Linked DNA regions of Homo sapiens: all the other regions are linked to region 1. Evidence: promoter capture Hi-C in human tissues and cell types (Jung and others, 2019). All regions are on one chromosome and are shown on one strand. The core of a region is centred on a gene start or on the middle of the fragment in contact, and the rest is flanking DNA. Distances in the headings are between cores, read along the strand shown. Region 1 holds the start of SLC16A14 (solute carrier family 16 member 14). Region 2 overlaps TRIP12 (thyroid hormone receptor interactor 12). Region 3 overlaps TRIP12 (thyroid hormone receptor interactor 12).

Evidence for each region. The method cuts DNA at HindIII sites, captures the fragments that hold promoters and counts their contacts. A contact is called where the count stands out against the background at its distance.
Region 2: a contact is called between a fragment that was not itself captured here and the fragment with the promoter of SLC16A14 in region 1, in 1 of the 25 tissues and cell types used here (adrenal gland).
Region 3: a fragment that was not itself captured here is called in contact with the fragment with the promoter of SLC16A14 in region 1 in 1 of the 25 tissues and cell types used here (bladder).

The regions. Positions count from the first base shown.
Region 1 is chr2:230,067,504-230,070,322 of GRCh38, forward strand. SLC16A14 (solute carrier family 16 member 14) reads right to left here and starts at 1,421. Exons shown (of 5, transcript NM_152527.5): 1 at 1,052-1,421. All of the region lies in intron 1 of LOC107985995 (a long non-coding RNA gene), which reads left to right. RefSeq lists enhancers at 129-899, 1,295-1,414, 1,425-1,484 and silencers at 275-524, 795-1,064. The HindIII fragment of the contact is 6,778 bases long and covers 1-2,819 here.
Region 2 is chr2:229,831,120-229,833,938 of GRCh38, forward strand. The region is part of intron 6 of TRIP12 (thyroid hormone receptor interactor 12); the gene reads right to left. Among named protein-coding and RNA genes, the nearest start is that of TRIP12, 89 kb to the right of the region's middle. The HindIII fragment of the contact is 5,189 bases long and covers 1-2,819 here.
Region 3 is chr2:229,913,506-229,916,324 of GRCh38, forward strand. The region is part of intron 1 of TRIP12 (thyroid hormone receptor interactor 12); the gene reads right to left. Among named protein-coding and RNA genes, the nearest start is that of TRIP12, 7.1 kb to the right of the region's middle. The HindIII fragment of the contact is 7,687 bases long and covers 1-2,819 here.

The DNA.
Region 1 (2,819 bases), core at 171-2,670:
CCACCCCCAACACTGCCTCTCTCCCCTCTCTTCTCTCTCTCTCTCTCTCTCTCTCTCTCTCTCTCTCTCACACACACACACACAGCCGCACACGCACGCACATGCAAACAAAGAAGCCAGACAAGGCAAAGGAGAATCTCTCTAAGCCCCAATAATGGCCCTCAGTCATCCTTGTTAATGAGCCCGAATCAACTTTTCCTCAGAAAGAAAATGGCTTAATTGGAAAGCAGAGTTCAGCTCCTAAAACATCGTCATGGCCTTGGCAGCGTTTAGCCCCGAAATGGCCGTCCCCGGTCTCTCACCCCATTTCAGCCTCTCTTGAGGAGCCTCAATCGGAAGCGCTAAGGGGGCCCAGCCTCTGCGCGCCCTGGGTGCGGGATCGTGCCCGCGGGGTCCGGCCTCGCGCCCCACCCTTCGAGCGCCCGCCCCCACCCGCGCTCGGTGCTCCCGCTCCCTTGGCACCCCGAGACCACATCCCCACTTCGGGCACCCCGCATCCCTCGGCGCGTTCGGAAGCCAGCAGCCCACCGGGGAAGCTGGGCCGGCTGCAGCACCACAGCCTGTGCAGAGAGGCATCCGCACCCCGCGAAGTCCCTAGGCGCAGCCCCGGGTCCCCCGCTCTGCGCCTCATCACTGTCCAGTTCGAGTCCCAAACGGGCCTAGAGAGCAGCCGGGCAGCGAGGCTGGGCTCCGGGCAGAACGCGCTTCTCCAGCCGGACGGGGGTGCCCAGGATGACGCTCGCGGGGCCCCGGCCAGCTTGAGCAGCAAGGCGCGCGTCCCCAAGCTCCGCCTGGCGGTCTGCCCTGAACCGCCGGTTACCCTGCCCGCCCGCAGCTCCCAAGCCCCCGCGGCGGCCTTGGCACTACCACCTGCCCCGGCACAGTCTCGCCCTCCACCGCCCGGGCAGCCTTTCCCGAGCCTGCCTTGGGCTGGGGCTGCCCCTTCCCGGGGGTCCCTGGGGGTGCAGCGGCCATCTGAAACCTAGGCTCCGATGCCCCCGGCGTCGCTCCATTCCCCAGGCCCGCGGCGCGCGCGGCCTCGGATACTCACCGCCCGAGGCCCGCTGGGCTGCGGCCTCACTCGGCTCCACGCCCGGATCCTCGAACTTGCTGCTCTGCTTGGAGCCCCCTGAGCTGCTGGGTGTAGAGATTTGTTGCAATGTCGCCTATCATCCTGGAGACGCGGGTGCCTGCGGCTCAGCTCTCCGCCCGGCTCGGTGCGCTCTGTGAGGGGCTCCCGGGCTCTTCCGCCGCTCGCTGCCAGGCCAGGTGAGCGTTTGGTGGAGCTGAAAGCTCGACGCCTCAGTCCAGGTGGCTTTAAAACGGGTGCGTTTGGAGGTGCCCAAACCTAACCTGGGCTTCCTTCCAATCGGAGCAATTTCAAATCTTCATGCTCGTTCATTCCTATACCGGCTAATTCTGGTTTGGCAGGGAAAAAAAATGCAGTCACCTCACATGCACACTCTTGTGGCCGGTTGAAGTTTATAGCTTTGGCTGAGGTTCCGCTAAGGCGCTGCACATTTATCACTGGCGGAAAGGTCCTGAAATCTAATCCAGGATGCAAGTGAGACTAGCAGTAGCCTCCATTTCTCTGAGATGGGAGAGAAGGGATGAAACAGACCCTCACTGAAATATTTTTGGCCAAAGAGGACTCAAAGTCCCTTATTCTCTCTCTTTTAGAGACACGGGTTTCACTATATTGCCAGGCTGGTCTCGAACACTTGGACTCAAGGAATCCTCTGGCCTTGGCCTCCAAAGTGCTGGGATCACAAGCTGAGCCACCGTGACCGGCCAGTCCCTCATTCTTGTTTCCACCCTGGGTCCCACCTCTCCCTGCTCTTTCTGCACGTCCATTACCTACCTTCGTGGGCACCAGGCACAACTTTCATCTCAATACCTCCCTACCTCATTCCCAGCAGGGCACACAACATAGTGCTTTGCCTTGGACAGTTTTCTGTATTATTGAAGTGAATGTGTGAGTCGATGAAGCCTGTGCTGTTTTTTCCCGCCTGAAGGTTTTGCAGTAATTCTCTGCTGCTGTTGTGATAAACTGCCACAGTAATAGCAGAGGAAAACCACACAAATTCACTATTTTACAGTTCTGGAGGTCGGAAGTTTGAAATGGGTCATACTAGGCTGAGATCATGGTGTTGGCCACCTTGAAGGCTGTGTTCCTTCTCGTGGCTGTAGGGGAGAGCCACCAGCTTCTGCAGGCCGCCCACATTCCTTGGCTGGTGGCTCTTCCTCCATCTTCAAAGCCAGCACTGCTGCGTCATTTTGTCTTCTTTCCATACTCACATTGCCTTGTCTCCCCTTTTCTGCCCCCACCCCTGTCCACTTTTAAGGACCCTGGGGATTACATTGAGTCCAATGAGATAATCCAGATAATCTCTCTATTTTAAGGTCAGCTGATTAGCAACCTTAATTCCATCTGCAACCTTAATTCCCCTCTTGCCATGTAAGGTAACAAATTCACATGTTCCAGGGATTAGGATGTGGACATCTTTGGGAGACCATTATTCTGCCTACCACAGATTTCCTTCTTTCTTCTTTTCCTTTTTCTTTTCTTCCTTCTTTTTCGTTTCTTTGAAAAAAAATTCACATGTATTTCACATTGCCTTCCTCGGTCACCCAAGCTGGAGTGCAGTAGCATGATCACAGCTCATTGCAGCCTCAACCTCCTGGGCTCAGGTGATCCTCCCACCTCAGCCTCCTGAGTAGCTGGGACTACAGGCACACGCCACCATGCCTGGCTAATTTTTTTGACTTTTTATAGAGACGGAGTCTCATTATATTGCCCAGACTGGTCTTGACCTTTT
Region 2 (2,819 bases), core at 186-2,685, 240 kb before region 1:
TTAATTAAGATGTCCTGAATCCCTCTTCTGAAAGTCAATAAAGAACATACTGCTGTAACAATTGTGATTATTTAACAGATGGCCAATTAGTAACAAAAATAATAAAAAGGCAAAATAGACATTTGGGGGAAATGTTGTATGTAGACGTCTGCCTTCTAAGTCTGCTTTATTTCCGGACTACAGTCTTGATACAATCATTTATCTGTTTTCATTAACTTCAAGAGTGCAAAAAGATATTACAACTAACAGATGACTGCTATGAAGCATGAAGGAGGTTGGGCATGGTGGCTCACTCCTGTAATACCAACACTTTGCGGACCATGGCAGAAGGATCATTTAAGCTCAGGGGTTCAAGACCAACCCGGGCAATATAGTGAGACTTGTAGTCCCAGCTACTGAGTTGGGCATGCCTGAGTCGAGAGCACTGCTTGGGCCCAGGAGGTAGAGGCTGCAGTGTGCCGTGATCGTGCCACTGCACTCCAGCCTGAGCGGCAGGGCCAGACTCTGTCTCAAAACAAAAACAAGAAGTATGAAAGACAGGGCAACTAAAGTGTCAAAACTAGTGTGAAATGAAGAGTTAAGACTCAGGATACTATTAATCGAAATACTAACCTGACCAACAATGACAAAAAAACAGTCTAAGCTAATGGAGGTAGAGTCTATTATAAATCTGAACAGGAAGTAAAACCATATTCCTGCAAAACTAGCAGTTAATTGTGCCTCTATGTGTCTGCTGAGGTCAAAGGTTTTTTTTGTTTGTTTTTTGGGTTTTTTTTTTTTTTTAACACAGATGATTGATCTACATAAGCTCTTCCACAATACCTTAAGCCCTATATACTGCACAGATTGTGACAGAATGCAAGCCAGGAAGAATATTTTTGTCATAATTGTTAAAGAGGCATGTGTGAATAACATATGCGAGTTTAAAGAGCTTGTCTGAAGAAAAAGATGCCAAAATACCAGCCACTGACTGTATTTTCATATTACCATTCTCTTCACACACCATTAAGTATTTTCTATGTAACTTCATTATTGGGATTAAAAAAAAAATTCTTAGAAAAGCTTATGGTTTAAAACAGGGTCAGCAAAATATGGCCCAAAGGCCAAATCCAGTCCACCACATGGTTTTGTAAATAAAAATTTTATTAGAACATAGCTGTACTCATTCATTTACAAGTCTGTGGCCGCTTTCACGCTATAATTACAGAATTGAGTACTTGCAACAGAGACTACATAAAGCATAAAACATTTACTATCTGGCCTTTTACAAAAGTGTTGGTAACTCCCCCACCACTCTGAAAAGTTTAGAGCCATAGAGAGACAGATTAACCAGAAATACTGAAGTTGTATAAAGGCTGGGCAAAACCCACACTTCTGGTAAAGAAAAAGGAAATTAACCAATAACTACACACTATAATGCTACTTACAGGTAGGCAGCATTTATGAAAACGCTTACCATACAACACAGGCATTGTCTAAGTTTCCTCATAACTGTACAAAAGGTATTATAATCATCATGCACATAAGGAAACTAAGGTTTTGTGACTTTGAGCATACTTGGCCAAGGTCAGATAGCTAGTTATGGCTGAGAGATCTGAACTCAGGAAGTCTGACTTCACAGGTTGTACCCTTAGAAACTGTATGACTCAAATATATTCTTTAGCAGTGATTTTTAATTCAAATACAGTTGCTTCTTCACATTATACAGAAATGCTGTTAACGAATACTGTTACTAGGTACAATAATAACTGAAATGGCTCTTAAACTTATCTTAAGACTATTCCATCTATGTAGGAAGCAAATACCGAGTTTTAACAAATGAAATAGTGGGTATTTTTTAAAACACACTCTGGAGCCCATACATTAAAAAACAAACACACAGAAATCTAACCTGTTAGAGTACTGCTGGGTTTTTAAGTTTATTTATCAGAGAATCTACTTGATTTTACTTTAAAATGTTCTCCAGACCTACAACCATTAAAGGTTTCTACCTAACATTACTTCTTAAATATTTTATTCTAACGACTTTCATAATGAATATCTCAAACTGCACTGCCACAAAGACATCAATTAATCAAAACATAAAACCTATAGAAGAACATAATTAAAAGAGATGCTAAGGTTCTATTATAGCAGGGTCCCAACCTTTGGGGAGCCACAGAATCTTTTTTATTTTTATTTTTTTGAGACAGGGTCTTGCTCTCTTGCCCAAGCTGAAGTGCAATGGTGCAATTTACAGCTCACTGCAACTTCCGCCTCCAGGGCTCAAGCGATCCTCCTGCCTCCGCCTCCTGAGTAGCTGGTACCACAGGTACATGCCACCAAGTCTGGCTAAGTTTTGTATTTTTTTGTAGAGACAGGGTTTCACCATGTTGCCCAGGCTGATCTCAGACTCCTGAACTCAAGTGATCCACCTGCCTCGGCCTCTGAATGTTGGAGTTACAGGTGTGAGCTACTGCCAGAAGTCTGATTATCAGTAGAGGGTAGGGTGCTGGTTTTGACAGAAATTGGAAACTAATTGTGAAGAAAAGGATTCTTTTGCCATACCTCTGATAGCAAGTATTAAGCTTTTGTTCCCTTTTATGAAGTAGTTTAGGTTATCTAAAGTGGGAGTTTAGATATGAGTTATGAGTTATCTAATTTTGTAAAACATATATAAAAACTATTTTTGTATATGTTTTACAAAATTAGTTTGGTTTTACCAAAACAAAACAAAAAAAAAACAAAAAAACTACTAGTTTTGTATGTTTTACAAAATTAGAAGACTTAAACCAGCCAAGCCTCTGGCTAATTTAAGTAGTAGTATAGAGATAGCTGTT
Region 3 (2,819 bases), core at 93-2,592, 150 kb before region 1:
TCTCCAAATGCTAAATTTGGGGTAACCAACTAACTAAAATATTCTAGGGTCTTAACAATTCCTTAAGTAGCTGATTTTAATGAGCCTAATTTTGAAAAATTTATATTCTACACTCAGCTGCCAACCCCTGAAAAATGAAAACAAGCAAGTAAATTATGGCAAACGATGCTAATATTATTTCACAACATCGTTTCTCAATGTGTCACACCAGAACACACTACCACGTACACCTACCATGTACAATGCATTATGTTGGAAGCCTTGTGCTAGACACTGTGAAGATAAAAGAATGAGATCTCTACCTTGAAGAGGCCAAAAACCCAGTTAAGTTAAAATGTAAACAACTAATTATGTAAGACAGAACGTGAAAGTCATCCTGAAATATGTTACAGAAGGAGAATAGGAGAGTAAGGAGTAAAAATTTTAAAGGAGTCACTGGAAGAAAGTTAAGTGTAAGTATATATATTTCTAAGAGATACAGGCCAGGCGCGGTGGCTCACACTTGTAATCCCAGCACTTTGGGAAGCCGAGGTGGGTGGATTGCCTGAGGTCAGGAGTTGGAGACCAGTCTACAATCCCAGCTACTCAGGAGGCTGAGGCAGGGAATCGCTTGAACCAAGGAGGTGGAGGTGGAGGCTGCAGTGAGTCGGGATCGCACCACTGCACTCCAGCCTGGGCGGCAAAGCAAAACTCTGCCTCAAAAAATAAAAATAATAATAAAAATAATAGATACAAGATGTGAGAGGGGGTGTCAATTCAAGTAGACAAAAAACCAAAGCAAAAATGCTAAAAAGTTGCTGGGTGTGTTCAGAGAGGAAGAAACAGTTCAATCTGATTGCAGCCAAGGATGTAAAACAGAATTACGAAACACTGGGGTCTGAGAAGTTGACAGCATTTGCATATATTTCCTATTTACAAGGCTACTAGAAGCACTTGGTTTTTGAGAATCAAAAAAAGTAGGGGACATTCATATGATCTCTATGAACCTGCTCTCTAAGGACACAAAGTAGCTTAAATTACAACTGAAGAGAGAATTTCAAGAGATGGGCTACTGTGAAAACTCACTTTAGGTTTCCAGGGCATCGCACATGTTTACCAGTATAAAATCTTTAAATTAAGTTCATCTGACCTTAAGAACACAGCACAAGGTACATCTATTTATTCAGAGCACTGCCCACGGCTAGAGTGAGTAGGAGTTTTGAAGTCAGGGTAGAACTCATTGGTTATGACAGCCAACAAGTTGATTAAAATACACACTGAAATGCTGTAACTTCAAGTCTTGAAGGCTTGTTGATGGACACTTAGGCTTATAAATAGCCTTCAAAAATCCATGTATGGGTAATAACACCATATTTATAGAAATATGTACATGCTCTCTAAAAAGAAACAAACAGAATAAACTACAATGATGTATACTATTATAAATTGGAAACACTAATCATTTAGCACTGCATTAAAACATATTGGCCAGGCACAGTGGTTCATTCTTGTAATACCAGCACTTTGGGAGACCAAGGCGGGTGTATCACGTGAGGTCAGGAGTTCAAGACCAGCCTGGCCAACAGAGTGAAACCTGTCTCTACTAAAAATACAAAAAATTAGCTGGGTGTGGTGGCAGGCACCTGTATCCCGGCTACTCGGGAGGCTGAGGCAGGAGGATTGCTTGAACCCGGGAGGCAGAGGTTACAAGTGAGCCAAGATTGCGCCACTGCACTCCAATCTGGACAACACAGCGAAACTCAATCTCAAAAAAAAAACTTATTTAGGTCCTCAATGTACTTTATCAACTATTACATGCACATAATGGTCAATTAAAGAGTAACAAAATGGCTTGCCCTAATTCTTTTTAAAATGTATGATTTAAAGTAACTTGCAGTCTCCAAAATATATACTGACTAAAAGTCTCAAAGTCATTTTAGCATTAACGATGCAAAATAAGAATCAAAATTTTAAAAATAGGACATTAAGCCATTACAAAATATTTCCACTTACAGTATCTTATTTTATTTTCACAAGACTTATTCTGTCAACAAACGCTTAATCCCTATCATGGGCCAGCTACTGTGCTAGATGCAGAGATAAAAAGGGACACTACTTGGGATTAGTGTCCTTATAAAAGTTAAAAAAAGGGTGAGGGCTAAAGACTTTAAAGAATTCATAATCAACTAAGGAATACTATTGTATACTAAAAAAAAAAAAAAATTTTTTGAGACAGGGTCTCACGGTCACCCAGGCTGGAGTGCAGTGGCACAATTACAGCTCAGCACAGCTTCCATCTCCCAGGCTCAAGCAATCCTCTCACCTCAGCCTCCCAGGTAGCTGAAGACTACAGGCATGTGCCACCATGCCCAGCTAATTTTTTACTTTTAGTAGCAACAAGGTCTCTACTAAGTTGCTCAGGCTAGTCTCAAACTCCTGGGCTCAAGTGATCCTCCTGCCTCAGCCTCCCAAAGTTCTGGAATTACAGGCATGAGCCACTGGGTCAAATGTTTCAAGTAGGATACCTATGCATATAACAGAGGTATGTTCGAGTTAAAAGAGTTTTAACAAATGAGGCAATGGTCCACAGTACTGTAAACAAGTGGAGAAAGGGCCTTGTGTTCCAATTCATCTGTGGAGCCTAATCTAAATACAGAATGTCTAGCATATAAATGACAACTGACTCTACATTAGGTGGTAATAATCAAATTTTTCAGATTAGGCACTTGAAGCTCACAAAGTACTAAGTTAAATTATTTGCCCAAGGTTACAAAGATGGGAAATGCATAGCCAGGATTGGAACCTAAGTCTTGCCTTCAAATCAGATAATCACTTGAACA